3 separate regions of the Homo sapiens genome follow, and regions 1 and 2 are each linked to region 3. Evidence: promoter capture Hi-C in 16 types of primary human blood cells and fetal thymus (Javierre and others, 2016). All regions are on one chromosome and are shown on one strand. Each heading gives the region's core, a stretch centred on a gene start or on the middle of the fragment in contact. The rest is flanking DNA. Distances are from core to core; before and after follow the strand shown.

Region 1 (4,246 bases), core at 855-3,354, 3.8 Mb after region 3:
TGTTATGAAACTAGATACTCTGCTGTAGCTATTATCCAGACTATAAGAGTGGCTGAAAAGAGGTGACATTACAGTGACAGTAGAGTCATAGCCAATATTATAAGGGATGCGCTGGGCCACTAAAAAAGGATGCCTCAGCTCTGGATATTAAAGTTACTTTGGGAATTTGAGAAATCTGGAGGAATTCAGTGACCCAAAAAAGAAGACCGGTAAGAAAAGAAATGATTAAAACAAAGAATACACTTAATAATTCATTTACTTATCAAACGTGTGCCAGCAATGAGGAAGACTATCTTTAGGGAATTTGTCATTTATTGGGAACGACAGAAACACGAAAAATTACAATTCAGATTAAATGGCATTAATTCACACACTTAACTATTAGGGCTAGGTCTGGAAATCCTGTGCTCTTGAGACTGGGTTCCTAAATCAGTTATTTTATTTCATTTTTAATTAATTTATTTATTTAGAGACGGAGTCTCGCTCTTTCGCCTAGGCTGGAGTGCAGTGGTGCAATCTCGGCTTACTGCAGCCTCCCCCAACTCCAGGTTCAAGTGATCCTCCTGCCTCAGCCTCCCGAGTAGCTGGGATTACAGGTGCCTGCCACCATGCCCAGCTAATTTTTGTATTTTTAGTAGACATGGATTTTGCCATGTTGGCAAGGCTGGTCTTGAACTCCTGACCTCAGGTGATCCATCCGCCTTGGCCTTCCAAAGTGCTGGGATTACAGGTGTGAGCCACCACGCCTGGCCAAAATAATTATTTTAAATGAAACATTTTAGAACAATAAATTTTTTGTACAGGAACTTTTTGCTTTAGGGTAAGCAGAAGTTCATTTATTTAAAGAGATAAATCTATCCGTTGTGACTTAGTAGTACAAATGAAGTAGGCAAACAATTTTAATAAGGAAAAGATGATTAAAATATTAAACAGGAGGAAGTTAATTAAAGACATAGTAGCTGGCTCCATTTATTCCCCAGTCTTACAAATGATAGAAAAATATTTTAATGACAATACAAATGAAAATTCCTGGAAATGTTATACTGAAATTAATTAAACACAATAAAGTGAATGGAATATAGTATTCTTTTTGTTGAATTAGGACTTGCAGTTAATTATTAAACACCATCCAAGAGTGTTACCAAATCCTGTCACTTCTGCCAAGAGAGGGTGATTGAGAAGTGAAGGCACCAAAAATCACATTAAATGAGGAATTATTAATTCAATAAATACTTGAGCTACTGTGTAGTAGGCAGTCCCTGTTCTCTGTGCTGGGGATACAGCAGTGAACAAAATAGACTAAAAGACAAAAAATGTTTCCTGCCTTCTTGGAGATTATATTCTATGGGAGGAGTCGGGCAAAAATCAAAATAAGTAAAATAGTGTGTTGGTCAGGACTGTTATGGGAAAAAAAAGAGGAAAGGGGAAGGGAGTTTTACATGAATAGATTTCTTCTTGAAATTTGGTTAGATTTGTCCTGAATTGCTGTAGGTCAAGAACAGGAATTTTAGACTTACTTCATTTTTCCCCCAACAAATTGTATGTTCTTGGGTAAATTGCTCGCCATCTCTTAATTTTCACATTTATAAAATTAGTAGATCAAAACAGCTATTTTTTGTCACTACTGTCATTTAACAGAAATGCTGCATACGTCATCTAATCTACTAATAACAAACTTATGAGGTAAGTAACGTTGTCCCCATTTGACACACGAGCAAACTGAGGTTTAGATTAGGCAACTCATTGGATTACATGCTCCTCTTAATGGCACAGAGGGTGTGTTCCAGGACATGGTGCTTGCCATTATCATTTGGTACTGCTGCTCACTGTGTTGGTCCTATGAGTTTCTTCAGTCTATGAATTTCAGGTCAGGGTGGTCGACGTCTTACAGAGATGCCTGTAATCCTGTCAGCATGAGATTGCATGGGACCTCTGCGGTTTGGTCGCGCATTTACCGCGCCTGTCGCTGGGTCAGACGACCTGGCAGTAGAGGGTGAAGGATGGAGAAGGCAGAAGGCAGGGCACGGAGACTACTAGTCCCAGGATTCCACGGGCGCCTTCCGGCGGAAAGTGTTTGTCATATGGGCGGGGACCCTGGACGACATTCGGGCCGCGGCGGCCGCTGGGTGCAGCCGAGCGGTGTGGAGCGGAGAGAATACTCGAAGGGCTCTCCTGATACTAACAGTTTTACGATTTAAAACTTCGCCAGAATTTGTAAGTAAACAAAATGACTATGCAGCTTTTCCATGTTTTAGTATTGAAACTGATATCTTGAATTTTTGAAAAGGACTTTCAGAAACGGTCCCTCCCCACCCCCACCTTCGTACCGCACAAATGGTATTTTTATTTTTATTGTTTTTGAGACAGGTACTTGCCCTGTCACCGAGGCTAGAGTACAGTGGCGTGATCATAGCTCACCACAGCCTCATACTTCTGGGCTCAAGGGATCCTCCCGCCTCAGCCTCCCAAGTAGCTGGAACTACAGGCCCGCACCACCATGCCCTACTAATTACTTTATTTTTTATTTTTATAGCGACAGGGTCTCACTGTATTGCCCAGGTTGGTCTCGAACTCCTGGCTTCAAGCGATTCTCCCACCTCAGCCTCCCAAAGTGCTGGGATTACAGGCGTGAGCCACCACGCCTGGCCTCACTCAAACAGTAAACGAGGTAGGTTGGGGGTATATTTTTGTTTTGGGATAAAAAGAAACTGAATCTTATAAATATTAAATGGGTTAAGATGTGAGTAAATTTTTGGGTTTAGACTTTAAGGTGAGAAGCCGAATTATTTTAGGGTTCGAAATGTGAGTGGGAAATTTGCCTACTAGTGTAGGCGGCGATTACTCCATTCCCAACATGCCTAGGTTCTCGACATTCATAATCTTAATCCTGAAAAGATAATACTTAAAAAAAAAAAAAATTGGTGCTAAAAAGGGCAAAGTTGAAGTTTTAGTAAGACCTCCTACCATTTTGCTTACATATTATATATGTACCATTCTCCCAATTGTATTTAATACCTGATGAAAAAGTTTGTGCCTTTTCCTTCTTTTAACAAATTTCATAGTACTCTCTACTTTATGAGTAATGCTTAATTATCAGACTTTATACTGTTACACAGATCCAGAAATGAGTTACATAGATTAAACATACTGGCTTTGTTTTACCTGTCTTTAGGTTTTAACACATTTTATTTTGGATCTGTATGAGAGATCCTTTCTTTGTTTTAAGCTGTGGCAGTTATCCATGTTTTTTGAGCTTTTTTTTTTGAGCACAAGATGAGGATATAAAAGGCCAGTGGAAACATTTAATAAAAAAAGGAACTTCATGGTAGAGTAACTACAGATGTTTTTGGAAGACTTTGTGTGGATTAGAATAGTTTGAAAAACTAACATTTGTTATGAAAACTGAGTGCCTGTCTTCAGTAATGTTTATTATGCTGAACGTGCAGTCCACAACTTGATTACCTGTTTTTCTGCTGGTTTGTTACGCAACCTTGCGTGACTCATTTAAGAACTATTTTATCTAGTTTCTTTCCTAATGTAGAGGTAATGCTAGCTTGAGAGCTTCAATAATTTATAAATAAATTAACTTCAGAATGTAGCTAATTATTTGAGGATTATTGGGTGTTTTAATAATGTATTGTATCTTGTATATAACTTATTTTTGCCTAAGAAGTAATTTCTGTATTCCATTCATTTCCATGGAACACAGAAGTCAAAATTCTATTCCAGGAAAGTCCACACTTCTTTGAAGTGCCACTTGAATTTCCTGAAGGAATGTTTGCTTCAAAAAGCCTTGTCTGCTTTATCACTTTGAGGTTGTTCACTAAGTCAACTGTGAAGGCCCATAAACTTGGAGATTCGACAACTTCCAAAAAAATTTAAAGAATGAAGAATTGGCTGTTTTATTTACCATTTAGAATTTTGATTGTGTTAAAATTTCATTAATATTTCTACATCATATGAACTACTGGATTAAACTGTGTCCTACAAGAAGGAATTCATAGGGCGATCATATATTACCATAAATTTTGCACAGAAATCAAGCACTTGGGAATAAGGAAGCGTGTCCCTAACATTGGTAATGAGCATAGACTGGAGTCATAGCTGGGTTTGAATTCCTATTTTGTTACTGTGTGGGCTGTTTTCCTCTTTACTAATATTTAAAGGAGCTGGCACATGATTTTTTTTTTTTTGGTGCCATGGCTCTGGTATGAACTGTGCACATAATTTTGGTAATCGAAATTTC
Region 2 (4,142 bases), core at 614-3,113, 3.1 Mb after region 3:
GCCATGTATATATTCCCGCTGGGGAGGAGTCGAATTGTTGTATATTTATGTTCAGCTTTAGTAGATAGTGCCAAACATTTTTCCACAGTGATTGTACCAATTTATGCTCACACCAGCAGTGTAAAAGAATTCTGGTTGCTCTCTTTCCCATGTTATGTAAACTCTTCCAGAATACAGAAAAAGATGAAAACTTCTAAATGCATTCTACAAGGATTCTATTACCTTGATACAAAATTGAGAAAGTATAGAAAAGGAAAACTATAGGTTAATGACATCTTTAAATGGAACTGTAAAGATAATGAAAATATTAGCAAACTGAACCTACAAATTTTTTAAAAAAACCAAACCAGGACCAGAATGGGTTTATTCCAAGAACAGAAGTAATGCTCAAAACTAGGAGGTTTTGAAATAATGCATACTAATTTATCAATGTTAGCTATTATATAATTCATTAAATCCCAAATTTATTTTTGTTAATATAATTCATTAAAATAGAAACTGTTAATATAATTCCTTTCGAAGACTAGAGGAGAAAAGCAGATAATCTCCAAAGATGCCAAAAAAGCCGTTGATAATATTCAATTCTCACTTTAATAAAAATTCTAGAAACAAAGATATAAAAGTCCATGTTATATCTCCTTCAGTCTACTTGTCGGGTTCATCATCCATTATTACCCCACATGAAAGCTAACTTCTTTTTCCTTGCTCCTCCATTTGCTAGCTGTGTAGCCTTTGACAAGTTACTTAACCACTCTGTGCTGATTTCCTATGTGTAGTAAAATAAGAGTACCTACCTTATGTTGTAATGATCAAGTCCTCAATACATTATTCTTAATCACTTTTTAATTGCAAGAATTTGGTCATTAAACATCCCTTTGACTGGATTGCGAGCACCTTGACAGCAGGGACTAACAGTGGAACTTTCTGGAGACTTAAGGAATGTCTGTTGAATCCTGATGCAAGCTTTCTCACCTTCCTGTGTTCTCTCATTGCTTCCTCATCCTGTCCAGCCGTCCGTCCACCCGTCGCAAGCCTAACCCCAGTCAATAACCACTGTTTACAACACTTTCTTTGTACCCTTCTTATAGTGCTTATTACATTGTTTTGAATACTAAATGAATATATAGTGCGTCGTTGTGTTTAACATTTAGGACATAACCACTCATAATGTTACAGTTAAAAAAATAGTTTTGTGCATTCCTCTAGGGCCGAACTGTGCCGTACTTCTGGTTTCACTGTACAGTGTCTACAAAGCACAGTGTCAAAGACAGAGCTCGGGATGAGAACTGGGCTAAGGCGCGCCCCGAACTCCCCAAACCCTATTATTCAGGGCCCGGAGAGGTGCGGGCTCCGAAGGTGTGGAGAGCGAAACACGCAGAGCAGTGATTCCACTCATCAGTCACACAGTAAGACGGGACAGCCCCATCTCGCAGTTTTTCATTATTCAACACAGAGCCCAACGCGCACGCAACAGATCCGCGCGCAGGGCTGTTTGGAGGCGCTTGGGGCGCACAATCTGGGGCAGGCGGAACCTTAGTCCTCAGCCTCGCGTTTCCCGCGACTCCGCTCTCACCGCTACACTACCACACAAACGGCCTCCTTCCCCCACCCCCGGGGGCCCATCCCGGTGGCGGGCTCCGGAGCTCGGGACTGCTAATTTCAGCGAAACGATTAAAAGACGCCCCTACAGCTGACGGCACTTTCTCTCCTCCGGCAGGGAAGGACGTCCAGCGTAGCGTCGCCCGCGCTTCCCCGCCGGCGCAGAGCAGGCCTCACAGAATCGCACGCCGCTGGCACGCACGCCGCCCCGCCCCCACGGCCCAGCGCCAGCCGCGCCCCGCGCTCGCACGCATCCCGGCCTCACTGCCCCTCGACTCCTGTTCCGTTGGAGGGGCCTGAGGCGAGCCTGAGCGCGCTGTTGGCCGGAGGGAAGCCGGAGGAGACCGGGTCGACTGGGCAGAGCGGCAGAGGGTCGAGGAGCCTGCTCTGCACGCCCAGGGAGTAGAAGTGGGCAGGGAGCAGGGTCACGTGAGGGAGCGCGCCGCGACTGAGCTTGGGTCCGACTGGAGCTCAGGCTCGCGACCCAGACTGGTGGGCCAGGCCTCCAAGCCGGCCTTACACCCAATCCAAGGAGGACAGACCGGACACAGAGGGACGGAGCGAGCAAGGAGACATGGCTTCATCATTCCTGCCCGCGGGGGCCATCACCGGCGACAGCGGTGGAGAGCTGAGCTCAGGGGACGACTCCGGGGAGGTGGAGTTCCCCCATAGCCCTGAGATCGAGGAGACCAGTTGCCTGGCCGAGCTGTTTGAGAAGGCTGCCGCGCACCTGCAAGGCCTGATTCAGGTGGCCAGCAGGGAGCAGCTCTTGTACCTGTATGCCAGGTACAAACAGGTAAAGTAGCAGGGAGAGGGTGGATGGGGGAGAAAGACACGGAGCCTTCTTCCTCAACAACTGATAGCAAGCATGTATGGTTAATAGCTAGGTGTAATGAAGCTTGTGTATGTGTATTTTGTTTTGTTTTTTTTTTTTTGACCATCTGCTGGGGATGAGCATCATCCTGAACGTGGAAAAGATGTTTGCTTTCTTAGGAGTGATGTTTATTTAGCTGGACACTGGACATTGTTTTTGTGTTTTTTTCTCTGACTTATTCAGTGATCTTGCATTTTACCAGCCCAAGAACCTTTACAAAATGAGGATAAAATAAGATATATCATTCATTTACTCTTTCCCAGAGGGCCACATGGAAGTAAATACGGTAAAGTTAATAAAACTATATAGAGATCCAAAAAGATAATAGGATTGTAATAATGTGATGCAGGGCTGGGCGTGGTTGCTCACGGCTGTAATCCCAGCACTTTGGGAGGCCGAGGCGGGAGGATCACCTGAGGTCGGGAGTTGGAGACCAGCCTGACCAACATGGAGAAACCCCGTCTCTACTAAGTTAGCCGAGCGTGGTGGCGCATGCCTGTAATCCCAGCTACTCGGGAGGCTGAGGAGGCGGAGGTTGCGGTGAGCGAAGATTGTGCGCCATTGCACTCCAGCCTGGGCAACAAGAGCGAAGAAACTCCACCTCAAATAATAATAATAATAATAATGTGATGCAATGCAAAATGCAGTATTACAACTTTTATTGTGATTTTTATAAAATCCTAAATATCTTTGATTTATGTTTTCGTTGAGTATGTCTTCCTTTCTGTTTGATACAATCTAAAAATTTTAGAGCTATGAACACCAGAGGAAATAATGCCCTTCTTTTACAGTAAAGGAAACTGAAGGCCATAGAGAGTAGGCACCTTTCCTAGGGTCATACAAATACATCAGTCAGAACTGGATTGTAGCTCCTGACTCAGTCTAAGGCTGTGAACTTTACCTGGAAATAGGGAGGTGTATAGACACGTTTAATTTATAATTCAGGGTGACATTGGTTGGTACCAGAAGGAAAATAATTGCTTTATCATAAGCAACATATATTTGTTCAGCAGCTTTTATGTGCAAGACACTTGGGTATAATGCCTACAGAGAATGCAGAGAAGCAAAAACATCATGACACTTTGCAGAGAAGCAAAAACATCATGACACTCACTTTTTTTTTTTTTTTTTTTTTTTACAGAGGGTCTGGGTTTCACCACATTTCCCAGGCTGGTCTTGAACTCCTGAGCTCAGACGATCCACCTGCCCAAAGTGCTGGGATTACAGGCATGAGCCACTGCACCTGGCTGACACTTTTTTTTTTTTTTTTTTGAGATGGAGTTTTGCTCCTGTTGCCCAGGCTGGAGTGCAGTGGCTGGATCTTAGCTCACTGCAACCTCTACCTCCCCGGTTCAAGCGATTGTCCTGTCCCAGCCTCCCGAGTAGCTGGGATTACAGGTGCCTGCCGCCATGCCCAACTAATTTCTTGTATTTTTAGAAGAGACGGGGTTTCATCATGTTCGCCAGGCTGGTCTTGAACTCCTGACCTTAGGTGATCTGCCTGCCTTGGCCTCCCAAAGTGCTGGGATTACAGGTGTGAGCCACCACGCCCCGCCAACATTTGCTTTAAGAGACTTAAAGTACTTGAGGAGTCTAGGTTTGAACATACCTGAAAAATTGCTGACAAGAGTTAAATAACAGTTCAGGAAAATTACAGCTCTTTGAAACA
Region 3 (4,226 bases), core at 1,445-3,944:
ACTAAAAAATACTCAATTTCTGAATGTTCGTCCAAAATTAACTTGTCAGATCATTAAATCATTGACTAGAAACACGTTGAGTACCTATTATGTACTAGGCACTTAGATCATTGTGAGACAATAAAAAATACTGCATTAGAAAAGGACATTTTTCACATCTTAAATGCAATAAGCATTATTTGGCTGGCAGTTAATTACATTTAACACATTAAACATATAGAGCAAAATTCTGAGCAATCAAAATAATTATACCCTTGAGCAATCGATTATTTAAATTTCTTTCACTATTCCCTTAAGCTGATTTCTACTCTGGGATTCTTTCATAGTTCTCAAATAAGAAAATAAAAAATTTCCTAAATAAGGCAATACAAAAGAATAGAAATGTAAGAGAAGAGATATATTAGCTCTTGAATCCCTGTTTCCATTTGCTGTCAATAGTGCCTCTAATGTTCGATTTTCTCTTCAAAGAAAAATCTTGATTTAAAAGAAGAAAAAGTACAATCACCTTTAACAGCTAAAGTATACTGATTAGCATCTACTAAAGTTAGCAAAGACTGAAACTGAAAAAAAATTGTAAAATCTTTATTCTAAGTTATATAACGCCATTCACCATAGTAATGATTTTATACTTTGGTATATGGCTTTTTAAAATAAATATTGCCAACAGGTAAAAATTTTTCCTTTGCTGTCTTAAGGCATTCCTAAGAGAATTTTTACCAGTGTGTGTTCATAACTTGAATGTTAATTTAAACAATGTTACTTCTATCACCTAAATGATATACTTATAGAAGAGTGGTTTAATTGGGAACAGAAAAACACCACATTGCTTCTTCCCAAGAAAAAGGGATGTATTCCATTCTCGAGGTCTCTCTCCCACTCTCTATTTATATATAATATACTGCATAGATAAATATACACACATTATATATGTATTTTTTTGAACTTAAAGAAGACTGGACATATGTATTTACATGTATATATCCAACAAATATTTAATTTTGAGATCTCTCTCCCTCTTCTGATTTATTATTCTCAGTATGATTCTCAAACTGTACGGTCTTTCACATTTCATTCATTCATCAAGCATGTATCGAGTCCCTTCTGCATGCTTAGCTTTTTGTCATATGGAAGGAAGATACAAAAGAAAAACTGTTTCTGCCCTTCAGAATCTTTCCATCTCTTCTAGGAAGGAGATAAAACACCATATATCATTAAGAAATTTATAAGACTAGTCCCAAAACCAATGGTACAAGCAACATGCATTTTACATTTATGTAGAATTTTAGAGCTTGGAAACACTTTCGTGATATATAATCCTAAGAACAATCTTGTAAAGTGCACATTATTAGCTCCATTTCAGTGATGAGGAATCTGAGACAGAATTTTAAGTGACATGTCTCGTTCAAACATTATGAGTGGAAGAGTCAACACTTAAGCCTGAGTTTTCTGATTCTAAGCCTAGTGCTCTTTTCAACACAGCACTGGAAACCAAAGATTGTGGTACACAACAGGGCAACAGCCAGTCTTCTGCTCGAGGTCCAACTAAACTGGACCCATACCGAGCAGTGTCCAGCCAAATGTCCAAATTAATTTTATCCTGCAAATATTTGTTCTTCAGTGTAATACACACAGCACAACTACCATTTCCTTCGTCTTAGTGCCTTTATCTCCTACATTCCAGAAATGGGGATGTCAAATATTTTTTTAAATCTGGCCTAGATGGAATCATATAAATCTCAAATCATAATATAAATCTTAAAGGTCTGGTTTCCACCAATCCTTCCACATTTTGTTTTCCCCCAGCACTAGAGAGCCTAACCTACCCTCACCCCTTTCGAGCATTCTTGCTCCAAACGACCACCTATTTTAAGATGTCAATGACCCTTTCCCAAATTCTACAAATTCACCCCAGTTTTGCCACCCGACCCCAGCGCCTGCCCGGACACGTTCCCCTCCCTCCCAATAGATTTGATACCGAGTTCAGGTTCTGCAGATCCCGTTGCGATGCTGTCACACAGCACTGACAGATAAGATTTGACCTTTCGACTCCGTCCTTGGGGACTTCCCGCTGGCCAAGAAGGGTAGTTCCAATCCCAGGAAACGGGCTTCCTGCTCAGGAACGCAGCCTCTAGCAGCGCACAGTCTGAGGCAATGTCTCCGGCAATTAGAACGATGCTGGGCGCCCGGGTGTGCATCACTCTGCCTCATACTCCTACCAACTGCAGGGCACTCGGTCCGGCAGCCAGTCCATCCCACCCACAGCCAAGTCCCAGCCAGCCGGACCTTACGCAGGACCCCGATGATAGGTCGTTGACGGCTGCAGCAAAAGCCAAGGCCACCTGCCGCTGCTGCCCATCCCCGCCAATCTGAGACCCCCTAGACTGGACCGCAGAAAAGCGTTTCTATGGGAACCCCCCCACCGAGAATCACGTGACGCAATCGGACGACCAATCGCTTCTTACCTCTGCCCGCGGTCCAGCTTTTGGCCCTCCCTCTCGCCCCCGCCTCCTTCGCCCAGCCCCGCCCCTTGCCTGCGGAGAGCCCGCGCCTGCGCGCTGTGTCCTGCGCGCTCCTTCCCTCGCGCGCGCTCTCCGTGGAAGAGCAGGGGCAGCGTGGGAGGCGCCAAGGGAGCGCGAACCTGAGGAGGAAGAAACGGGGCTAGCGCGCAGGCCCAGAACGGTCCGAGCCGCGGCAGTCGGCGACGCCTCAGAGCGGAAGAGGGAAGTGAATCAGGCGCCGGGTAGTGGGTTGCTGGGCTGGGCTTGCTGAGGTAGAGGCAGCGCCAAGAAGAGGCCTTTGCCGCTGGTCGGGATTGGGATGTCGAAGAACACAGTGTCGTCGGCCCGCTTCCGGAAGGTGGACGTGGATGAATATGACGAGAACAAGTTCGTGGACGAAGAAGATGGGGGCGACGGCCAGGCCGGGCCCGACGAGGGCGAGGTGGACTCCTGCCTGCGGCAATATCCTTGCATTCACCGCCCTCCCCACCCCAGCCCAGCCCAGCCCGCCCTTCTCCTGGGACCCGGGAGCCTGCAGGATCCGCGGGGCACCGGCGCGGAGCTGCCCTCTCAACCTGCGGCTTAACCTGTCTCTTTGGGATCGCCCGCTCTGAGAGGGCAAGGGGGAAGCCCCCGTTTCCTACCCAGTCGGCAGGAGACGCGAGGGTCCCACTCTTGGAAGCCTGCCCTCCCCCGCGCGCCTTCCACGCCCCCAGATTCCTCAGGTTGCACCCGAGTGCCTGCCTGCCTCGGGAACTGGTCCCGCCGGCCGCGCCCTCGCGGCGCTGGGGAAGGCGGCCCCGGCTGGTGGGGAAGGCTGGTGCCGAGCGCCTTAGTTTTTCTTCCTAGAACTCTGATTTCCTGGGGTCACATTAGCTCCAGAAATTTCTGATTGTGGGGAACCTGCATCTTTCCTTAGTGGTTTTGTTTTTTGTTGTGTTTTTGTTATTGGTAGCGTTAAGGTAGTTTATTCCTTACCGGGGGGCGGGGGGAGATGGGACTGTTCGAAAATTGAGGGTCCCTGTGCTTTCAGCCCATTGGCCTTTTTAAAAAAAAAAAAAAAAGAAGAAGAAGAAGGGGATTTGGCAAAATATACATTGTACAGAATTTGTTAACTGGGGGAGGGGAATGAATACAAAAAATACAAAACTCCTAGAAGGAAGCTTGGAGCCTTTTACCTGCTAAGAAAAGGACAATAGAAAAAACAACGGGGAATGCGTGTGGAGAATCCTTGGAAATATTTAAAATAAACCCCAATGAATAAGATAGAAGATGAGTCATTCGTATAAAGCAGAATCATTTTTGTAATCCTAAAATTGTTTCCATTTTAGTTAAAATATGGCAGTCAGTTCCCGGTTTCTGTTTTTGCATATTTGAATATTCATAACTTTGGCTTCGCATTTGCATTACATCTTTTTTAGAAAAATGTAAATGTTGCAAAAAAACCGAAGCTGTAGTTTTAGAAAATCTCAGACACTGAATTTGTATGCATTTCTAATTCTTGGGTGTATTCATAAGGAAGACTCTCAACAATGTCCTGTTATAGTGGGGAAATATGAGAGTGAAAATATTTAATGGCAACAATATCCTTTTTTAAAGGCACCTAAATAGAGCATTAGACATTTATCAATATATAGATAGTGCTTTGCCACAACTTTCACAATTAATTAGCTGTTGCTCTTTTGCATTATTTAAATACTTAAGTGCTTGGAGTTATAAAAAATGAGC

Evidence for each region. Contacts are between HindIII fragments. The CHiCAGO score rates a contact against its expected background, and 5 or more counts as called.
Region 1: a contact is called between the fragment with the promoter of TOR1AIP2 here and the fragment with the promoter of ARPC5 in region 3, in 1 of 17 cell types (fetal thymus). The highest score is 6.2, in fetal thymus.
Region 2: a contact is called between the fragment with the promoter of ACBD6 here and the fragment with the promoter of ARPC5 in region 3, in 4 of 17 cell types (activated CD4 T cells, total CD4 T cells, non-activated CD4 T cells and 1 more). The highest score is 7.7, in activated CD4 T cells.

Annotation. Positions count from the first base shown.
Region 1 is chr1:179,875,661-179,879,906 of GRCh38, reverse strand. It overlaps TOR1AIP2 (torsin 1A interacting protein 2), which reads left to right and starts at 2,104. Exons shown (of 7, transcript NM_001199260.2): 1 at 2,104-2,214; 2 at 2,534-2,668. RefSeq lists an enhancer at 1,770-2,129. The HindIII fragment of the contact is 9,006 bases long and covers 1-4,246 here.
Region 2 is chr1:180,500,298-180,504,439 of GRCh38, reverse strand. ACBD6 (acyl-CoA binding domain containing 6) reads left to right here and starts at 1,863. Exons shown (of 8, transcript NM_032360.4): 1 at 1,863-2,395. The coding sequence starts at 2,174. RefSeq lists a silencer at 1,796-1,895 and enhancers at 2,106-2,295, 1,817-2,317, 2,425-2,940, 2,941-3,456. The HindIII fragment of the contact is 1,534 bases long and covers 966-2,499 here.
Region 3 is chr1:183,634,251-183,638,476 of GRCh38, reverse strand. ARPC5 (actin related protein 2/3 complex subunit 5) reads left to right here and starts at 2,694. Exons shown (of 4, transcript NM_005717.4): 1 at 2,694-2,960. The coding sequence starts at 2,818. It also overlaps a transcript of RGL1 not described here. RefSeq lists silencers at 2,411-2,570, 3,051-3,100, 3,181-3,240, 3,192-3,410 and enhancers at 2,721-3,000, 2,998-3,498. The HindIII fragment of the contact is 3,712 bases long and covers 1-3,663 here.